Linked DNA regions of Homo sapiens: all the other regions are linked to region 3. The links are contacts of gene promoters, found by promoter capture Hi-C in blood cells and fetal thymus (Javierre and others, 2016). All regions are on one chromosome and are shown on one strand. Each heading gives the region's core, a stretch centred on a gene start or on the middle of the fragment in contact. The rest is flanking DNA. Distances are from core to core; before and after follow the strand shown. Region 1 overlaps KCNQ1 (potassium voltage-gated channel subfamily Q member 1). Region 2 overlaps KCNQ1 (potassium voltage-gated channel subfamily Q member 1). Region 3 holds the start of SLC67A1 (solute carrier family 67 member 1). Region 4 overlaps KCNQ1 (potassium voltage-gated channel subfamily Q member 1). Region 5 holds the start of KCNQ1 (potassium voltage-gated channel subfamily Q member 1). Region 6 overlaps KCNQ1 (potassium voltage-gated channel subfamily Q member 1).

Region 1 (3,220 bases), core at 705-3,204, 380 kb before region 3:
CACCCCAGGAGGCTCCCAGCGATCTGTCAACCTGTGCTGTTGGCATGCAGCCTGGGGGTGAGGGGTGGCGGAACGCTGCCTCAGTACCACGTCCTGCTCAAAGGCCACTTGCGAGCTAGGCTGAGCCTGTGGTGTGCGGTGGGATAGGAAGGAAAAGAACAGAGTCTAAGGAGCCTAACTCACTTCCAGATTCACCCGGAGGCCTGCATGGAGGAGGCGGCACTGAGACTTCATTCACCGAGCTTGAGGGTTTACCCTAACATTCATTCACACCATCAGTCATTCAGCAAACACTTCACAAACGTGCATCCCACGCCTGGCACTGGGCCTTCGGAGGGAGGGAATGCAGCTGGTGGGCCCCTGCCTGGGGAGCCCCTGCTCTGGTCGGGGAGGCAGTGGTGGCAGTGGCTGCCTGGCGGTCCATGAACTGGTGCAAGCCAGAGCCGGAGGCCTCCTGAGAGCCTGGCAGGGAAGCCCAGGCCAGGGCCTCCGCAGAAGGAGGGTTTGGGGTCCAGGCTTCATGTGGGGGGTCTTGTAACATGGGAGGGTAGACGCTGCCTTGGGACAGGAGAGACAGAGGCGGGGGGACCAGGGGAGTGGGCTGCAGTTGGGGTGCAGGCCTGGTGGCCCCGGCAGGGGGACCAGCCTCTGGGGAGGTGCTGCAGGCACAGGAGTTCTGTGTGGACCCAGCCGAAAGCTGGCAGGAAGGGACCTGTTTCTTGGGGTTCCCAGTCCAGATCTGTGTTGGAAAAAGTGTCAGCTGAAACCCCAAGAGGCTGGGGACAGCCTTGGTCCTGCTGTGGGACACAGGTTTAATCTCCAGATGGCTCCTGGATAGGCGGGCTGGCGGCTCTGTCTAACGGGGACAGCACACTTGGGGCTTCGGGAGACAATGAGGGCAGAAATCTTACCCACCGGCCACACCAAGTCACCCATTGTTGTGTCCCTTGGGCTGGGATCCCATGGCTTTCAAGAACTTTTTAAAGAAATGAGACTCAGCTGCCGCGGAACAAGCCACAGGTAAAGAGTATAAGACAGCGTGAGGCATGGGGTGGCCACGGGAGCCCTGGGCCAAGGAGGCCCAGTCTGGTGGGGAGGCGTCCATTCACCCGGAGCTGGACGGGGAGGACCAGGCTGTGGGTCTGTGAAGCGGGTGTGGGATCACATCCACGCTCCTTCTGTGGTTTGTGCCCTGTTGTGGCTGCCAGGGGAGGGGCTTCCAAGGCCCTGCCAACCAGCTGGGCAGTGTGGACAATGGCAGACAGGGTGCTGTGTGGGGGCCTGAGGGGCAATGGTTGGGGGGCAGCTGTTGCCGTTCTGGTGAGAAGTGGCGGTCCCTGAAGGGCTGGGGTGCTAGGGAGCCTCATGGACCTACTCCCGACGTGGCAGCTGCCTGCTGCAGATGGGCCAGCCATGTCCCGCCTGTGCCGGGAATCACCACCCCCAGCTCCCTTCTCTCCAACATGACAGGGTTCGGGTGATGCCCTGTGGGCTGAATGGTGAGAGAGGCGTCCCTGTGCTGACACCAGTGGGCGTGGACGTGACCCTCTTTTTAAAAGAATTTTTTCAGATGCAATTCCATTAAGGATCTGGAGGTGAGAGGATGAAAAGGAAACTCTGAGCTTTGAGTACATTTTTAATTATGTTTTAAAAATTAAGACATGAGGCCGGGCATGGTGGCTTACGCCTGTAATCCCAGCACTTTGGGAGACTGAGTTGGGAGGATCGCTTGAGCCCAGGAAATCGAGGCTGCAGTGAGCCAGGATCATACCACTGTCCTCCAGCCTGGGTGACAGAACAAGACTCTGTCTCAAAAACAAAACAAAACAAAACAAAAAACCAAAAAACAACAACAACTAATATATGTTTTTGACCAATACCTAATTCTGTTGTTTAAGAATTCAAAATCTACCAATAGTGATCATAAGTAATGTATTAAATACTTACATAGTACAGCAGGTGTTGGCCCCCCCCCACAACATTGGTTTCCATCCCTGGAAGCTGCAAATGTGACCTGACATAGAAAACACCCCTTTGCAGCTGAGGCTGAGGGTCCCGAGAGGCGTGATTGCATTATCCAGGGGGCCCAAGTCCAGTGACACGTGTCCTCCTAAAAGACAGGACAGATTCAACAAAGGAGGATCCGGCCACATGCTGCACAGCACGGGAGTGATGCCGCCACCCACCCAGGACGCGGGAGCCCGCAGAGGCTGGAAGGCTGAAAAGGGCCCTGTCGCCCCCACCCCCCAGGATGACGTATGGCCTGATGTGGCATTCCTGCCTCAGGACCATGGCACCAAGTGGTGGCGCTGGGGCCCCTGGAGTCGGCCAGTCTGGGCACGTCCCATGCTGTGTCTGAGCCTCAGTGTCCCCATCGATTGGTAGTGCCTCCTGAACCCCAATCCAGGGGGCTTCTGGGGGGCAGCCTGGGACCAGACGTGCCTCACCAGGGCTTCTGTCTCCTCACCAGGACTTCCATGATGTGACACCTTCCACATGGGGTTCAGAGCGGGGAACCTGTGCCTAGTGTCCAGCCCAGCGTGGGGCCCTCGGTGTGGGCCAGGGCTCACCCCTTTGGGAGGGGTCGGGAGATGCCTGGCCCAGGCTCCATCCATGCAGAGCCAGGAAGCAGGTGAACCTGTGGGGACCTTGGCGACCTCCAAACCCTGCTGAGGCTGCCTGCTGACAGCCACTGGTGAGGGGGGTGACAGCCACTGGTGAGGGGGGTGACCAGCTGGTAGCTTTTTCTGAGGTGCAGATTCAGCCCTGGGGAACAGCCCTGGCAGGCTGTGAGACCTCTGCCCCTGGGCGTCCACATCCCAGGGCTCTGAGCTCAGCAGCCCTGGAGCCGGCAGCCACATCAGGGATGGAGGGAGACCTGCTGGTGACCAGTGAGTGAGCAGGGGAAGCCTGTCCTCTCCAGCGCCCAGTGTTTCCTTCCTGGGGCACATGGGATTTGGAGGCATTTGGAGTCTCCCAGGATGACTTTTTTTTTTAAGCCCCTAGAAGTGGTTTGGGGTTTAAGCGTCAATATTTAATCTCTTGAAGTTACACATTCAAGGCCCTATCCTGCCTTCGGCTTTAGGTTCGCTTCACAAACCCATTGTCTGCTTATCAGCCTGGCGAGGTCCCGTCCCCAGTAGGGGTCTTTGAACATTGCTCGATCTCATTCACCAGCCACGGGGAACATTTTGAACCCTCTGATGCTTGCTCTATGAAT
Region 2 (3,299 bases), core at 520-3,019, 350 kb before region 3:
TTCTCACCAGCACTTAGTATTGTCTGCTTTTTAAGCTTTGCCCATCCTAAAGGCTGGAGCCATATTCCGTCATGGTCTTCATTTGCATTTCCCTAGTGACGAATGGTGTTGGGCATATTTGCCATTCATATATCTCCTTTGATGGAGGATCTGTCCAGTTTGTTGCTGGTTTTAACAATTAGGTTGTCTTCTTAGAATAATCATGTGAGTTGTAAGAGTTGTGTCTATGTTCTGGATATGAGTCCTTCACCAGATCTGTTTTACAAATATTTTCTCCCAGTCATGGCTTTGTCTTTGCATTTTCTTAACAGGATCTTTCAAAAGAGCAGCAGTTTTTAATTTTGATGAAGTTCAATTCATCAGGGTTCTTCTTTTTTTTTTTCTTTAGGGTTCATGTTCTTTGTGTTCTGTCTAAGAAATATTCGCCTAATCCAAGATTACAAAGTTTTTTCTCCTGTTTTCTGTAGAAATTTTATAGTTTCACATTTCTTGTTTAGATCTGTGATTCATTTCGAGTTTAATTTTATATATGGTGACAGGTATGGATGGAGGTTAAATCTTTCTGCATGTGGTTATCCAGTTGTCCCAGAGACTTTTTTCCCATTGAATTACTTTGGCACCTTTGATGAAAATCAGTTGGCCGTGTGTGTGGGTTCGATTTCTGGACTTTGTCATCTGTTCTGCCAGGAAAGCACTGTCTTGATTACTGTGACTTTTACGCTAAGCCTTGAAATCAGGTCCTGTTAATCCTCCAATTTTGTTCATTTTCAAGAGTGAGCTGTTCTGCCAGCTCCTTCACATTCTCATGAATATCTTAGAATCAGCTCGTCAATTCTACCAAAAAAAAAATTGGCTAGAATTTTGATTGGCATTGCATTGGATATGTAGATAAATTTGGATCTCATACACGTCTTAGTAATACCGAGTTTTCTGATCCACGAACACGGTCTCTCTCCCCAGTGCCTCATGCACGTCTTAGTAATACCGAGTTTTCCGATCCACGAACACGGTCTCGCTCCCCAGTGCCTCATGCACGTCTTAGTAATACCGAGTTTTCCGATCCACGAACACTGTCTCGCTCCCCAGTGCCTCATGCACGTCTTAGTAATACCGAGTTTTCTGATCCACGAACACGGTCTTGCTCCCCGGTGTCTTAGATATTTTTCAACACCACTCATCAGGATTGTGTAATTTTTAGTGGTGTGAAACTTGCTAGATTTGTTCCTAAGTATTTTATGTTTTTGAAGCTACTGAAATGATATTGTTTTCTCAGTTTCACTTTTGGATTATTTGTTGCTAGGATATAGAAATACAATTGATTTGTTCGTATATTAACCTTGCGTCCTGTGACTTTGCTCATGTTACTTATTAGTTTGAGAAGGTTTCTTGTTCATCTGTTTTTGGGGTTTTTTTTGTTTTTTTTTTTTTTGTTTTTTTGTAGATTCTTTAGGATTTTCTATGGAGATGATTGTGTTGTCCACAATTAAGTCAGTCTTATTTTTGCCTTTTCAGTCCATATACTATTTATTTCTTGTTTTTACTTGAATGCACCTGACAGTGTCTGCCAGTGGGGAGAGGGCTGCTATCCTTATCTTACTCCTAAGGTGAAGTGAGGTAATCTTTCACCATTAGGTGTGGTGGGAGCTGTAGGGTTTTAGTAGAAGCCACTTATCAGGCCAAGAAGTTCCTCCTCTTCCTGGTTTGCTGGGAATAGAGAGTGCGTCAAGAATGGCTGTTGGATTTTTTGACAAGTGCTCCTTCTGCCTCTATTGAGATAATCATATCATTTGCAACAATCTCAATCAAATTCTTTCTTAATTTGCTAGTGTGGGGAATCGCACTGATTGACTTTCAAATAGCAAAGCAAACTTGCTTCCCTTACACAAAGCCCACTTGGTCATGATGAATTTTTATTTTATTTTATTTTATTTATTTATTTATTTATTTTATATGTATTTGTACTTTTTTAAATTTTTTATTTTTTTGAGATGGAGTCTTGGTCTTTTTGCCCAAGCTGGAGCGCAATGGCGTGATCTCGGCTCACTGCAGCCTCTGCCTCCCAGGCTCAAGTGATTCTCCTGCCTCAGCCTCCCGAGTAGCTGGGATTACAGGCGCCCGCCACCACACCCAGCTAATTTTTGTATTTTTAGGTAGAGATAGGGTTTCACCATGTTGGCCAGGGTGGTCTTGAACTCCTGACCTCAGGTGATCTGCCCGCCTTGACCTTCCAAAGTGCTGGGATTACAAGCGTGAGCCACCATGCCCAGCTGTCATGATGCGTTTTAAAACACCTTTTTGGATGTGACTGACTTCGGTTGTGTGTAGAACTTCCACGCCCACGCTCACGAGGGCGTCACCTGCCATGTGTTGGCTGTTGTGTCTGGTTTTGGCATCAGATGCCGCTGGCATCAGAGAATGAGTTGGGAAATATTTCCTGCTCTTCAATTTTTAGGAAGAGTTTGTGTAGAATTGCAATTATTTCTCCCTTAAACATTTGATAGCTAGAACATGTGGAGGTATCTGGGCCTGGAGTTTTCTTTGTGGAGAAGTTTGCCATTGGAAAGTCAGCAGATACAGGGCTATGCAGGTTGTCTATTTCTTCTTGATGAGGTTTTGATTGTTCATGTCTTTGAAAGTATTTGTCCCCAAGGAGCAGAAGCCCCAGCCCAAATTTGGAAACAAGACCATGTTGTGCTGACATGTCATTCCTGAGCAGCTTAGGGGCTGTGGGGTTTGCAGACCTCTGAATGCAGCCATCTGCAGGGGGACCCTCCTCAGTGCCCTGAGAGGGGGCCTGGGCTGGGTGGTCTCTGCTGCTGGCCATCCCACTGGGCACTGCCTCCCCAGGGATTCTGCAACAGGACACCGTAAGGGGCACGGGGGACAAAGATCAGACTTTCTCTGTTTCCTTCCAGCTTTGCTCCCCAGGGAGGCAGTCCCTTCTCAGAGGAATGAAATTTAAGAAGACAGGCCCTACAATTTCACGACAAGTCTGCTTTTGACTCTCCCGTTTACTGTGTAAACTTCAGCCCTAAAACAACATACATCCTTCTGAAGTTGTTCACATATTAGCTCTTAAAACAGCAAAATCCGTGCACAATTTCCTCTCAATCCCTTAAAACATTCCTGAAAGGGGGGGAAAACAACTGTTTAAATTCACCGCCTGTTATTAAAATCTCTAGATTTGCAGAATCAGAGTGAGGTACTCAGCAGTCAGAAAACAGACTAGACAGGCCCGTGTGCACACACGCGCTGACACACGTGCACACACACACGTCCACAGGGCAGCCTTTAATAAC
Region 3 (3,020 bases), core at 433-2,932:
GGCAGGAGAATGGCGTGAACCCGGGAGGCGGAGCTTGCAGCGAGCCGAGATCGCGCCACTGCACTTCAGCCTGGGTGACAGAGCAAGACTCCGTCTCAAAAAAAAAAAAAAAAAAAAAAAAAGATATGGGGGAAATTGCCATTTCTGATGCTTAGGCTCAACAAAGTATGGACATCCATGCGGGAACACAGATGAACCAAGGGACCTGCACTAATGCTCCTGGACCGCAAGGGGAAGCGCAGCGAGGGCTGTTGGTCTAGATTTCTTGAACTTTCTGAGCAGCATTCCTTCCTTCTGGGCATGGAGCAGGACCCTCCTGGAATGGGGTCTTATGCCCTACAGTCAAACAAGAGAGGTCAGATAATTTATGGCCAGCTTCTAAACACAAAGGTGGAGGGAAAGTTAGAGCAATATTTTTAGGTTTGATGTCTGGCTGTGTGGAAAGGCGGGGTTCTGATTTCTATGACCTGCCCTGGGGAAAATGGATTCCAGTTTCTAAGGCCAGCTTCGGGGAAAATGGCACTGAGAGACAGGAGAGCAAGAGAAGGTCAGAGAAACACTTTTTCTTCCGAAGCTGCTTCTGAGGCCTTCATTTTGGGGTATTGTTTTCTGATGCCCAACATATCTGAGCTGCTGAACGAAGGGTAGCTGCTGAACCACTCCCACGGTGACTTGGAATGGCTTAGCCAGCCGGCCTTGGGCCACCTGGCTCTGGCCCCCCTGCCCACCAGGACTTTGGCCGGCTCTCGCTCGCCTCTGCGATGTCCGTCCCACCCTGTCTCACCCCTGCAGTTTTCTGCTCTGTGGAGCGATGATTGACACATGGCAGGGGGACACTGGTTTTGACATTTGAGCCTGTGCCCAGCCCTTGCCTGGGGAGGAGGTGGGGCAGGAGTCCTGAATGAGCATCTCCCTACTTAGTGACAGTCAGGGGCACGGAGAATGGTGCCCAGGCCAAGGGCAGGGCTTGGGCCAAGTGTGCGCAGCGTGGGGTGTGTGTGCTCCAGCGGCTCCTGCTGCGGAGGGCGGCATGAGGCTTGTTTACCTGTGTGCTGGCATCTCTGGTGGCCCCTGCAAGGGTGGGGAAGTGGCAGGCAGGGTGAAATGGGGAAAAGTGGGCTCTCAACTGCTCCTAGCAGCCTCCGGGTCTGGGGAGGGAAGTGAGGAGGGGCCCAGAGCTGTCTCCTGGTCACTCTTCTGGGGCTCTGTGCAGACCTTTGGCAGGGCCAGGCTACACCACACCCTCTACAACCTCCCCTGACTTCTTCCCCTAACCCCTCACCACCATTCCTCCGCTTTTCTCTCCCCGCCCCTGCCTCCCCTCCATTCTCTCCTTCCCTCCACCTCCCGGTCCCATCCCCTGCCCACACTGCCCCTCCTCAGGCCCAAAGTGGACACCGGTGCTGCCTGAGGGTCAGAGTGTCCACCTCCAGCAGCCCGGGCACCGGGCAGGATTCAAGCTGGAGGGGGCTGGGGCGGGCGAAGCCGGGCACGGGGCGAGCCCGCTGGTGGGCGGGGCAGGGGCGGGTCCTTCGAGGGGAGGGGCGGGCTCGGCCAGTGAGAGCGCAGAAACCGTGGCACGGGCGCTCCCGGAACTGGCGATTGCAAAGCGCGAGGGCTGGAACTCAGACCCAGAGGGGCGGTCCCTGTTGCAAGTCATCTCCCGAAAGGGCGGGGCCGGGGCTCATCCCGGAAGGACCGGTGTCTAGGTCACCCTGGAGCGCTCACCCCACCGGCACCCGTGCCCAAGCCCGCCCCTGCAAAGGCAGGTACTCGAGCACACTCCGGAGAGGGCGGCCTCTGAGCCCCGAACCCCGAACTCCGGCGCAGCGTCGCACCTCTGCCCAATGAGGTGCCCCTGACGTGCCTGCTGCGGCTGCCCTGCTCCCCCCAGCCTCCCTGCATCCCGGGATGGGGGAGGGCGCCAGGCGCAGCTCCCGGACCCTCAGGGGTCTCCCCGCCCTACCCCACCAGCCTGGGTTCGGTACCTCGGGGCTCAGATGTGCAGTCAGCTGTTAATGTGGCAAAATTTGGGGAAGTCCTCTGCAGCCGCAAAATCCAGTTCCCACCAGTTGGAGGCCGGGCGGGGAAGGGTGGGGACAGACAGCACTCCGCTGTGGGAGGTAAGGCAGAGCTACTGGGGAGCCTGGAAGGCTGAGCTATGTCTCCCCTACGCAAGACCATTCCAGAAGCCCCTTGGAGCTCTGGCTGCTGGCCACAGGGGAAGGTAGACCTTCCCTGAGAGCTGCACTGTGTTGGGGACAGGGCCACTGTGGGCCTACGGAGGGCCTCCAGGCACAGGGACCCACATCAGCCCTCTGGCCACAGAAGGCGCTGATGATTTGAGGTGGACTCAGCCACCACTCCGAGCCTCTGCCTCCCTCTAAAAGTGGGGCATGGCACATTCCTGTGTCAGGCAACCAGGCACTGAGCCTGGCCCACCTGCAGGGGTCGGGGGGAGCAGCTTGTCCCTGTCTCCCCTCCCCGGGAGGCTGTGTGCCTGGAGACCAGAGCTGTCAAAAGTGGAGGAGGGGGACCCCCTGATGTGTCCTCTAAGGTCCAGGTAGCAGGAGAGCTCCACTGGGGAGGGGGTCCTGCAGTGCTGTCCTCTCTTGCAGGCAAGGCCAGGCGGGTGCTGCCTGGGACCCAGTGACTCAGCACCCCTGCCCGGATCAACTGGACTTTTGCCCCCTGCTCCGCCAGCCTCCTGCTTGGATCTCTCCTGGGTCTCCCTGCTGCGCCTGTCCAGGATGCAGGGAGCTCGGGCTCCCAGGGACCAGGGCCGGTCCCCCGGCAGGATGAGCGCTCTAGGCCGGTCCTCGGTCATCTTGCTTACCTACGTGCTGGCCGCCACAGAACTTACCTGCCTCTTCATGCAGTTCTCCATCGTGCCAGTGAGTAACACACCCCAGCCCCTGCAGCCCCAGCCAGGGCTGAACCGCTGTTCCTCCTGCCCTCCATCTGGGCCGTCGCAGAGAGTGGGGGTGGGGGTTTCATGCTGCCAGGGCCCCTCCCAGTTG
Region 4 (3,246 bases), core at 140-2,639, 420 kb before region 3:
CTGCAGCAAACTTCTGCCTGGACATCCAGGCATTTCCATACATCTCTGAAATCTAGGCAGAGCTTTCCATACCTCAATTCTTGACTTCTGTGCACCCACAGGCTCAACACCACATGGAAGCTACCAAGAGTTGGGGCTTGCACCCTCTGAAGCCACAGCCCAAGCTGTACCTTGACACCTTTTAGCTATGGCTAGAGCGGCTGGGACACAGGGCACCAAGTCCCTAGGCTGCACACAGCATGGAGGCCCTGGGCCCAGTCCAGGAAACCATTTTTGCCTCCTAGGCCTCTGGGCCTGGGATGGGAGGGGCTGCTCCTAAGGTCTCTGACATGCCCTGGAGACATTTTCCCCATTGTCTTAGTGATTAACATTTGGCTTCTTGTTACTTATGCAAATTTCTGCAGGCTGCTTGACTTTCTCCTCAGAAAATGGGTTTTTATTTTCTATCACATTTTCAGACTGCAAATTTTCTGAACTTTTATCTCTGTTTCCCTTTCAAAACTGAATGCTTTTAACAACACCCAAGTCACCTCTTGAAAGCTTTGCAGCTTAGAAATTTCTTCCACCAAATACCCTAAATCATCTCCCTCAAGTTCAAAGTTCCACAAATCTCTAGGGCAGTGGTAAAATACTGCCAGTCTCTTTGCTAAAACATAGCAAGAGTCATCTTTAATCCACTTCCCAAAAAGTTTCTCATCTCCATCTGAGACCACCTCAGCCTGGATTTCATTGTCCATATCATTATCAGAATTTTGGTCAAGCCCTTCAACAAGTTTCTAGGAAGTTCCAGACTCTCCCACATTTTCTTGTCATCTTCTGAGCCCTCCAAACTGTCCAACCTCTGCCTCTTACCCAGTTCCAAAGTTGCTTCCACATTTTTGGGTATCTTTACAGCCGCACCCCACTCCCAGTACCAATTTACTGTATTAGTCCATTTTCATGCTGCTGATAAAGACATACCTGAGACTGGGTAATTTATAAAGGGAAGAGGTTTAATTGACTCACAGTTCCACATGGCTGGGGAGGTCTCACAATCATGGCGGAAGATGAAGAAAGAGCAAAGGCACATCTTACGTGGCAGCTGGCAAAGAGAGAATGAAAACAGAGTGCAAGGGGTTCCCCCTTATAAAACCATCAGATCTCATGAGACTTAATTCACTACCACGAGAACAATATGGGAGAAACTGCCCCCATGGTTCAATTATCTCCCACTGGGTCCCTCCCACAACACATGGGAATTATGGGAGCTACAGTTCAAGATGAGATTTGGGTGGGGACACAGCCAAACCATATCAGAGTTGAATCCTGTCTGGGAAGAGATGGCTGCAATAGCCAGTGTCTGGGCAGCTGATGATGTGAGAGTGTGAGGTAGAGAACTGTAGTGTGCAATAGAGACCTGTAGTGTGCATGTCAGTGTTGTTTCCCGATTTTGACAACAGTACCACATGGTTACAGAAGAGAACACCCTTATTCCTAAGAAATCCATGAGGAGGCGTTTAGCAGAAAACAGGCATGGTGTCTCCAAGGGCTCAGAAAGATTCAACCAAAAGAGGGAAGTCTGGAGAGGGACAGGATGGAGCAGGACGGGGGCAGTGTAGAAACCGCAGGCAAGTCTAAGCAGAGCACGTTTGGGAGTTCCTTCTGCTATTCTTGCAACTTCTCTATAAGTTTGAAATGAAATCATATAAATCGAAAGTTAGAAGAGAATTACCACATCATGTTGGATTTCACTCATAGCCACGAGAACGGGTGGTGGTCTCTTCTGCAGTGAACTGATGCGATGTGTGATGTCACTAGTTCTCATCCAAAGCAGATGACAATTCCAGTTACTCCTCACCAGACATAAGAAAATGCTTTTAGTAGATCAGTTTTTCTGATTGTAAAGTTCAGAAATGTTAATCAGAGAACGTGCAGAAATTTTTAAAGAAGAAAAGTAAAATGACTCATCGTACCAAAAGCCAGAGATGCCAGCTTTTAGTTTCCTGCTAGTCTTTTTCTCGGCGTGTGTGTGTGCGCGCGTGCATGCACATGTTTCTACTTGGTCTTTGTGTGTGTGTTAAGGGCGTGTACACACACAGTGCAGTCAGGAGTGAGTTGCACGTCTACAGCTAGGCTGCTTCCCCGAGGCTGTGTGGCCATCAGCCAGGCGTCCCCAACCCCCAGGCCATGAAGCACTACCAGTCCATGGCCTGTTAGGAACCAGGCTGCACAGCAGGAGGTGAGTGGCAGGTGAGCAAGTGAAGCTTCATCTGTATTTACAGTCACTCCCCATCACTCGCATTACCGCGTGAGCTCTGCCTCCTATCAGATCAGTGGCGGCATTAGATTCTCACAGGGGTGTGTACCCTGTTGCAAACTATGCATGTGAGGGATCTAGGTTGCCTCCTCTTTATAAGAATCTAATGCCTGATGATCTGTCACTGTCTCCCATCACCCCCAGATGGGACTGTCTAGTTGCAGGAAAACAAGCTCAGGGCTCTCACTGATTCTACATTATGGTGAGTTGTATAATTATTTAATTCTATATTACAATGTAATAATAGTAGAAATAAAGTGCCCAATGCAAGTAATGTGCTTGAATCATCCCAGAACCACCCACACCACTGGTCTGTGGAAAAACTGTTTTCCATGAAACCAGTCACTGGTCCCAAAAAGGTTGGGGACCACGGCCATCGGCTGTTTGCTTTATGAATTTGTGCCTCAGTTTCTTCATCTCTGAAACGGGAACGATGGGAGCCCTCACCTCGTATGGTGGTTTGAGGATTGAATGAACTCATTGTCCAGCACCCTTAGCTTCTTGCCAGCTCAGGAAGTGCTGAGCAGGGTAACCCCTATCACTGCGTGTGTGTGTGTGTATATGTGTGTGTGTGCATACTTGCCTATGTGTGTCTGTGCAAATACTTGGTAAAATTGAGAGGGTACTAGACAACTCATTTGTATCTTCTTACCTTTTGACACATGGCAGACATGTCTCACATCTGTTCTTCCTCCAAATGTGACCTTTCAATGGCTGCCTGGCATTTCCCCTGTGTTATTGAACGTAATCAACTCTCTATTGACGGCTGGGTTATTTCCTAATTGACTGCTGTAAATAGCATTGTGATGCAAATCCTTGTACACTCATTTTTGCCTGGAACTCAAGATTATTTCCTTGGGTCACATTTGCAGGAGAAGACTGACAGGATCAAAGGGTTCCTGCATTTTTATGGCTCTGACACCTTTGGCCAAATCACCTTCCGGGAGTGT
Region 5 (3,447 bases), core at 438-2,937, 460 kb before region 3:
CAGAGACTCCATGCAGGTGTATGTATGTTCACCCGGAAAGTAACTGCTGAATGCGTGCTGTGTGCCCTGCAGAGCTGACTGACTGCCCCCATCTTCTGACCCGCTGCCCTTCTGCACCTTCACTGATATGCTTCCCAGGAAGGTACCCTCTCCTCGGCCTCCCTTGTGTTATCACAGCGCCCAGCACAAGCTGGGACCCACTCCATCCACTCTTGCTGCAAATACAGACTGTGCACTCCTGTGTGGCACCTCACTAGGGTGGGGAGTCAGGCGTCAAGGGCCTGGGCTGGACTCCGTCCACGATAAAAGAGCAGACTTTTGGCAGGGGGTGGTAGATACATCAAATTGACCCAGGGTGCTCAGGGACGACCTGGAAGTGTCACATGAGTTATGGGTCTCCTGGCGGGGCGGAGAGTCACCGCTGAGCTCCACCTTTAGTCCCTGCCTCAGGGCTGTGTGCAGTATCCTGAAAAAAGCCGGTCTCTTCTGTTGGCTGCCCCCCACCCCCCCCCCAAGCCTGAGACGTGCTGAGACCCAAATGCCAGTAGCGGGCGGGAGGCAGTGCAGAGACCTGTGAAAATCTTCCGATGTGACCAACCCACCCCCACCCAGGGGAATCCACGGGGCGCAGCGGCAGCGCGGTCTCGACGGTGGGGAGGACAAGGCGCCCATTCTCCAAGTTACTAGGGTGGCGCAAGCGCCTCTCCCTTTAACTGCCCAGGCAGCCCCGCCTGCTATGCCCGGCAGTCAAACCAGGTCCAGACCCCGGCTGTGCCGCCCCCACCCCCCAGCAGCCCTGCCGGCTCCCCACCCACACAGCTCCCACTGGGAGGTACCTGACAGTGGTGGTCCCATCTCACCCTCCCGGTCCAAGGGCCCTGGTGGGAAGCGACCCGAGCGTATTCGCCGCCCGCAGCTCGCGCGCCTGGGCACCCGGGGGCGCTCACAGTGATCGCGGGGCCAGCACACCCTCACCCAGGACATCCCTTTCCTCCCCCCAACCCCAACTCCGGAGTGGCTCAGAGGGAGGGAAAGTAGATGCCGGCACCCTACCCCGCCCCTCCTGCCCCCGCTGTGCCGTTCTCGGTCGTGGTATCGGCCAGGCCTTACCCCTTCCTCCCTGGCGCAGCTGGGGTCCTCCTCCGGGCCAGGCAGAGCAGGCGGGCATCAGAAGTGGGGGCCAAGCAGGTGGGTGAGGGCAGGGCAGGAGCAAGCAGGGGAGATGCAGACGGGGCGGGGCCAAGCAGGTGGGTGAGGGCGGGGCCAAGCAGGTGGGCGGGGAGGGGGCGGGGCCAGGCGGGGTAAATGCACACTGGAACGGGGCCAAACAGGTGGGCGAGGAGGGGGCGGGGCCAAGCGGGATAGATGACACGAGCGGGGCTAAGCAGGTGGGCTCGGGCGGGGGTGGGGGTGGGGGCGGGGGCGCAGGCGGGGGCGGGGGCGCGGACAGGCCAAGCCAGGGGGTGAGGCGGAGGCAGGGCCAGGCCGGTCCGTGGGGAGAGGGCGGGCCAAGCCGGTGGGCGCGGGCAGGGACGCCCTGTGCGCGCCGGACCGGCGGGGGCGGGGCGTGCAGGCGGGGGCGGGGCACGCCGTCCCATGGGACCGGCCCTCGGCCACTGCCCCCTCCGGCCCCGCCCCGAGCGCCCGGGCTGGGCCGGCAGCGGCCCCCCGCGGCGGGGCTGGCAGCAGTGGCTGCCCGCACTGCGCCCGGGCGCTCGCCTTCGCTGCAGCTCCCGGTGCCGCCGCTCGGGCCGGCCCCCCGGCAGGCCCTCCTCGTTATGGCCGCGGCCTCCTCCCCGCCCAGGGCCGAGAGGAAGCGCTGGGGTTGGGGCCGCCTGCCAGGCGCCCGGCGGGGCAGCGCGGGCCTGGCCAAGAAGTGCCCCTTCTCGCTGGAGCTGGCGGAGGGCGGCCCGGCGGGCGGCGCGCTCTACGCGCCCATCGCGCCCGGCGCCCCAGGTCCCGCGCCCCCTGCGTCCCCGGCCGCGCCCGCCGCGCCCCCAGTTGCCTCCGACCTTGGCCCGCGGCCGCCGGTGAGCCTAGACCCGCGCGTCTCCATCTACAGCACGCGCCGCCCGGTGTTGGCGCGCACCCACGTCCAGGGCCGCGTCTACAACTTCCTCGAGCGTCCCACCGGCTGGAAATGCTTCGTTTACCACTTCGCCGTGTGAGTATCGCCACCGGCGACGGCCGGCACGAAGGTGCTTCCTGAGAGCTGGTGTGGGGGAGCTCTGTCCCAGCGCCACCTGCCCCGTCGGAGCTGCGACCCCGGAGCAGAGGAGGGAAGGAAGTGGGGAAACGCAGAAACACAAACTCTGCACTCTCCCTTGAAGTTCAGAGGCGCTGCTGTGTCTGGGGGTGCGCATCTTCTCGCAGGCCCGGCGTGGGGAGGGAGCCGGCTGGGGAGGGGACCACCTGGAGCCCAGAATTTGGCTCCACACCTCCGGGAGGGTAGTCCAGGTGTGAATCCTTCTGGGAAGAGAAGCGTGCTGGGGAGCGCACCCTTGGGTGCAGTAAGATAACTCCTCAAGGTCGGCTGAGACTCGAGGCTCAGGAGCCCCCAAGAGAGAAGGCCCCTGATGTCCGGTGCCGCATCTCAGACCCCCTGAGGCCCAGGTGGACTCTGGGGCAGGGGGCTGTCCAGGATAGGAAGGTGACGGTGGCGGTGCTCCCTGAGGGCTCAGCATGCCACGGGCCGTCCCCACGGGCCCCACATTAACTAATTGAACCAAGCTCATGAAAACCTGGCTTGATGCAGAGAGCGGAGAGGCACGTTTGCAGCTCTCACTAAGAGGCAGCTGTGCTCCCGGAGAAAGCAGCGCTGGTAGCAGAGGCACCTGGCCCCCCTGTTACCAGGTGGTTCCAATTCCCGGTACAGCGTGCCTGAGCAGGGCTGGGCACTGGATTTCTCAGGGACAGGCCTGGGAAGTCACCTCCGGGAAGGTCCAGGCTGCTCTCCTCCATGCCTGCCTGGGGCCTTCCCCCGCTGCCCCAGTGGCCCTACTTCCTGGCTGCCCAGCCAGCGGCCTTTTGGTGTGGTGCCAGCCTCTGGCCTGGGAGCCTCTACCCAGACATCCCATGGCTGATGGCTGTGGGGCTCACCTGAGGGCTGAAGGGTGGTCTCCCTGAGCGTCCTCAGGTGGAAGCATCTCCTCTGCCTCGGGCAGGCTCAGTAGAGAACTGGCTGGAGGGCATCCAGAGGCCTGTCCATGCCTGCTGGCAGCTGCCACCAGGGCCTCAGGGCGGGTGACAGCAGGAGCCAGGCCCCAAATGGCTTCAAGCATCGTCTCAGGTGAGGGGGTGGGGTAGGGGTCGCAGGGCTACTGCCTTCCTTGCTAAGAGGTGGCCTTCCACATCAGGAAGGGGAAGTCTTACCCACCTCCCTCCTCAAAGATGTGGTTGGGGGGTGATCTTGGAGACTTTTCCCCACCCCAGCTCCCAAGCCCCTGT
Region 6 (3,141 bases), core at 281-2,780, 400 kb before region 3:
GTTTTATCTATAATCCCCTGACTGGGGCTGCTGCCTTTCTTTCAGAGATGCCCTGCCCAGTGAGGAGGAATCTAGAGAAGCAGTCTGGCCTCAGCTGCTTTGCTGTGCTTTGGTGAATTCTGCCCAGTCCAAGCCTCCCAGCCTCCTTAGCACTATCAGGGGAAAACCGCCTACTAAAGCCTCAGTAATACCAAATGCCCCTCCCGCCACCAAGCTTGAGCATCCCAGGTCAACTTCAGACTGCTGTGCTGGCAGTGAGAATTTGAAGCCAGTGGTTCTTAGCTTGCTGGGCTCCATGGGAGTGGGACCCACTGAGTGAGACCACTTGGCTTCCTGGCCTCAGCCCCCTTTCCAGGGGAGTAAATGATTCTGTCTTGCTGGGGTTCCAGGCACCACTGGGGTACAGAAAAAACTCCTGCAGCTAGTTCAATGTCTGTCCAAACAGCAACTCAGTTTTGTGCTTGAAACCCAGGGCCCTGGTGGTATAGGCACATGAAGGAGTCTCCTGATCTGCAGATTGCAAAACCCATGGGAAAAGCATAGTATCCAGGCCGGGTATCACAGTCCCGGGTATCACAGATGACGGGTTGATGGGTGCAGCAACTGCATGCAAACTGCATGTTTGCAGTTCCCTCGGCTGGGGGAGGGAGGTCTCCCGGCTCCTTGCACTTCCCAGGTGAGGCGATGCCCCACCTGCTTCTGTGTGCCCTCCGTGGGCTGCACCCACTGCCTAATCAGTCCCAATGAGATGAACTTGGTACCTCAGTCAGAAATGCAGAAATCACCCAGTGTTGATCTCACTGACAGCTACAGACTGGAGCTCTTCCTATTCTGCCATCTTGCCAGATGTAAAGTGTAGAATTTTTGATTTTGTTTTTTTGCTTGTTTATGCAATTAGTGTTAAGTCATCATCAGTTTAAAATAATGAGTTGTAAGATATTTTCAAGCCTCATGGTAACCTCAGATCTAAAACATATGGCAGACACACAAATAAAAAGCAAGAAATTAAAGCATGCCACTAGAGAAAATCACCTTCACTAAAAGGAAGACAGAAGGGAAGTAACAAAGGAAGAGAATATCTTCACCAGAAAACAAATAATAAAATGGCAAGAGTGAGTCCTTACGTATCAATAATAATATTAAATGTAAATGGGCTAACCTTGCCAATCAAAAGACAGAGTGGTTGAATGGACCCCTGCCCCCACAAAAAAAGACCCAATTATCTGTTGCTTACAAGAAACACATTTCAACCTATAAAAATACACATAGACTGAAAATTAAGGGCTTGAAAAAAGATATTCCGTGCCAATAGAAACCAGAAAAGATCAGGAGTAGCTATACTTGTATTAGGCAAAGTAGAGTTCAAGATAATAACTATAAGAAGAGACAAAGAAGGTCATTACATCATGATAAAGGGATCAATTCAGCAAGACGATATAACAATTTCAAAGAAACATCTAACTTAATCTGCACTGTAGACCAAATATACCTAATAGATATTTACAGGACATTTCATCCAGCAATTCCAAGAGAAGAATACACATTCTCCTCAGCACATAGCTCATTCTCAAGGATAGACCATATGTTAGATCACAAAACAAGTCTTGAAACATTCTAAAAAATTGAAATACTATCAAGCATCTTCTCTGACCAGTACAGAATAAAACTAGAAGTTAATAATGAGACATTTTGGAAACTATACAGACATACACATAGTAATTAAACAATATGCTCCTGAATGACCAGAGGGTCAAGGAAGAAATTAAGAAGGAAATTGAAAATTTTATTGAAATAAATTACAATGGAAACACAACTTACCAAAACCTGTGGGATTTGTTTGTGTCTTTTTTACTTCCTTGAGCAGTGGTTTGTAGTTCTCCTTGAAGATATGAACAGACACTTCTCAAAAAAAAGACATTTATGCAGCCAAAAAACATATGAAAATGTGCTCATCATCACTGGTCATTAGAGAAATGCAAATCAAAACCACAATGAGATACCATCTCACACCAGTTAGAATGGCGATCATTAAAAAATCAGGAAACAACAGATGCTGGAGAGGATGTGGAGAAATAGGAACGCTTTTACACTGTTGGTGGGAGTGTAAATTAGTTCAACCATTGTGGAAGACAGTGTGGCAATTCCTCAAGGATCTAGAACCCAAATACCATTTGACCCAGTGATCCCATTACTGGGTATATACCCAAAGGATTATAAATCATTGTATTATAAAGACACATGCACACATATGTTTATTGCACCACTATTCACAATAGCAAAGACTTGGAACCAACCCAAATGCCCATCAATGATAGGCTGGATAAAGAAAATGTGGCACATATACACTGTGAAGTACTATGCAGCCATAAAAAAAGATGAGTTTATGTTCTTTTCAGGGACACGGATGAAGCTGGAAACCATCATTCTCAGCAAACTAACACAAGAACAGAAAACCAAACACCACATGTTCTCACTCATAAGCGGGAGTTGAACAAGGAGAACACATGGACACAGGGAGGGGAACATCACACACCGGGGTCTGTTGGGGGGTGGGGGCAAGGGGAGGGAGGGAATTAGGAGAAATACCTAATGTAGATGACGGGTTGATGGGTGCAGCAAACCACCATGGCACGTGTATGCCTATGTAACAAAACTGCATGTTCTGCACATGTACCCCAGAACTTATAAAAATCCTGTGGGATACAGCAAAAGCAGTATTAAGAGGGAAGTTTCTAGTTAAAAGCACCTGCATCAATAAAGAGAAAAACTTCAAGTAAACAACCTAATGATCTTAAAGAACAAGAAAAGCAAGAGTAAGTCAACCTAAAATTAGTAGAAGAAATAATAAAGCTTAGAGCAGAAATACATGAAATTGAAGTGAAGAAAACAAGACAAAAGATCAACAAAATAAAAAGTTGGTTTTTTTTTTAAAAGATAAAATTGACAAACCTTTAGCCAGACTAAGAAAAGAAGAGGGAAGATCCAAGTAACTAAAGTCAGAGACAAAAAAAGGAGACATTACAACTGATACCACAGAAATTCAAAGGATAATTAGTGGCTGCTATGAGCAACTCTATGCCAATAAATTGGAAAATCTGGAAGAAATGGATACATTCCTAGACATGTGCAACCTACCAAGAT

Evidence for each region. Contacts are between HindIII fragments. The CHiCAGO score rates a contact against its expected background, and 5 or more counts as called.
Region 1: a fragment that was not itself captured here is called in contact with the fragment with the promoter of SLC67A1 in region 3 in 17 of 17 cell types (monocytes, M1 macrophages, activated CD4 T cells and 14 more); the score reaches 16.0 in monocytes.
Region 2: a contact is called between a fragment that was not itself captured here and the fragment with the promoter of SLC67A1 in region 3, in 16 of 17 cell types (non-activated CD4 T cells, naive B cells, naive CD4 T cells and 13 more). The highest score is 10.0, in non-activated CD4 T cells.
Region 4: a fragment that was not itself captured here is called in contact with the fragment with the promoter of SLC67A1 in region 3 in 2 of 17 cell types (M0 macrophages and monocytes); the score reaches 5.5 in M0 macrophages.
Region 5: a contact is called between the fragment with the promoter of KCNQ1 here and the fragment with the promoter of SLC67A1 in region 3, in 15 of 17 cell types (M0 macrophages, activated CD4 T cells, erythroblasts and 12 more). The highest score is 15.8, in M0 macrophages.
Region 6: a fragment that was not itself captured here is called in contact with the fragment with the promoter of SLC67A1 in region 3 in 1 of 17 cell types (naive CD4 T cells); the score reaches 5.1 in naive CD4 T cells.

The regions. Positions count from the first base shown.
Region 1 is chr11:2,517,808-2,521,027 of GRCh38, forward strand. All of the region lies in intron 1 of KCNQ1 (potassium voltage-gated channel subfamily Q member 1), which reads left to right. Among named protein-coding and RNA genes, the nearest start is that of KCNQ1, 74 kb to the left of the region's middle. RefSeq lists enhancers at 1,904-2,405, 2,406-2,905. The HindIII fragment of the contact is 5,693 bases long and covers 1-3,220 here.
Region 2 is chr11:2,551,748-2,555,046 of GRCh38, forward strand. The region is part of intron 2 of KCNQ1 (potassium voltage-gated channel subfamily Q member 1); the gene reads left to right. Among named protein-coding and RNA genes, the nearest start is that of KCNQ1, 110 kb to the left of the region's middle. The HindIII fragment of the contact is 3,473 bases long and covers 34-3,299 here.
Region 3 is chr11:2,900,596-2,903,615 of GRCh38, forward strand. SLC67A1 (solute carrier family 67 member 1) reads left to right here and starts at 1,683. Exons shown (of 11, transcript NM_002555.6): 1 at 1,683-1,769; 2 at 2,619-2,894. The coding sequence starts at 2,751. SLC67A1-AS (SLC67A1 antisense RNA) reads right to left here and starts at 2,980. Exons shown (of 3, transcript NR_169305.1): 1 at 2,864-2,980; 2 at 1,989-2,114. RefSeq lists a silencer at 1,815-1,944 and an enhancer at 2,870-3,020. The HindIII fragment of the contact is 10,715 bases long and covers 1-3,020 here.
Region 4 is chr11:2,479,349-2,482,594 of GRCh38, forward strand. The region is part of intron 1 of KCNQ1 (potassium voltage-gated channel subfamily Q member 1); the gene reads left to right. Among named protein-coding and RNA genes, the nearest start is that of KCNQ1, 36 kb to the left of the region's middle. The HindIII fragment of the contact is 1,703 bases long and covers 539-2,241 here.
Region 5 is chr11:2,443,321-2,446,767 of GRCh38, forward strand. It overlaps KCNQ1 (potassium voltage-gated channel subfamily Q member 1), which reads left to right and starts at 1,688. Exons shown (of 16, transcript NM_000218.3): 1 at 1,688-2,164. The coding sequence starts at 1,779. It overlaps TRPM5 (transient receptor potential cation channel subfamily M member 5), which reads right to left and starts at 1,194. Exons shown (of 29, transcript NM_014555.4): 1 at 1,111-1,194. RefSeq lists silencers at 1,488-1,597, 1,608-1,677. The HindIII fragment of the contact is 13,739 bases long and covers 1-3,447 here.
Region 6 is chr11:2,498,329-2,501,469 of GRCh38, forward strand. The region is part of intron 1 of KCNQ1 (potassium voltage-gated channel subfamily Q member 1); the gene reads left to right. Among named protein-coding and RNA genes, the nearest start is that of KCNQ1, 55 kb to the left of the region's middle. The HindIII fragment of the contact is 2,636 bases long and covers 213-2,848 here.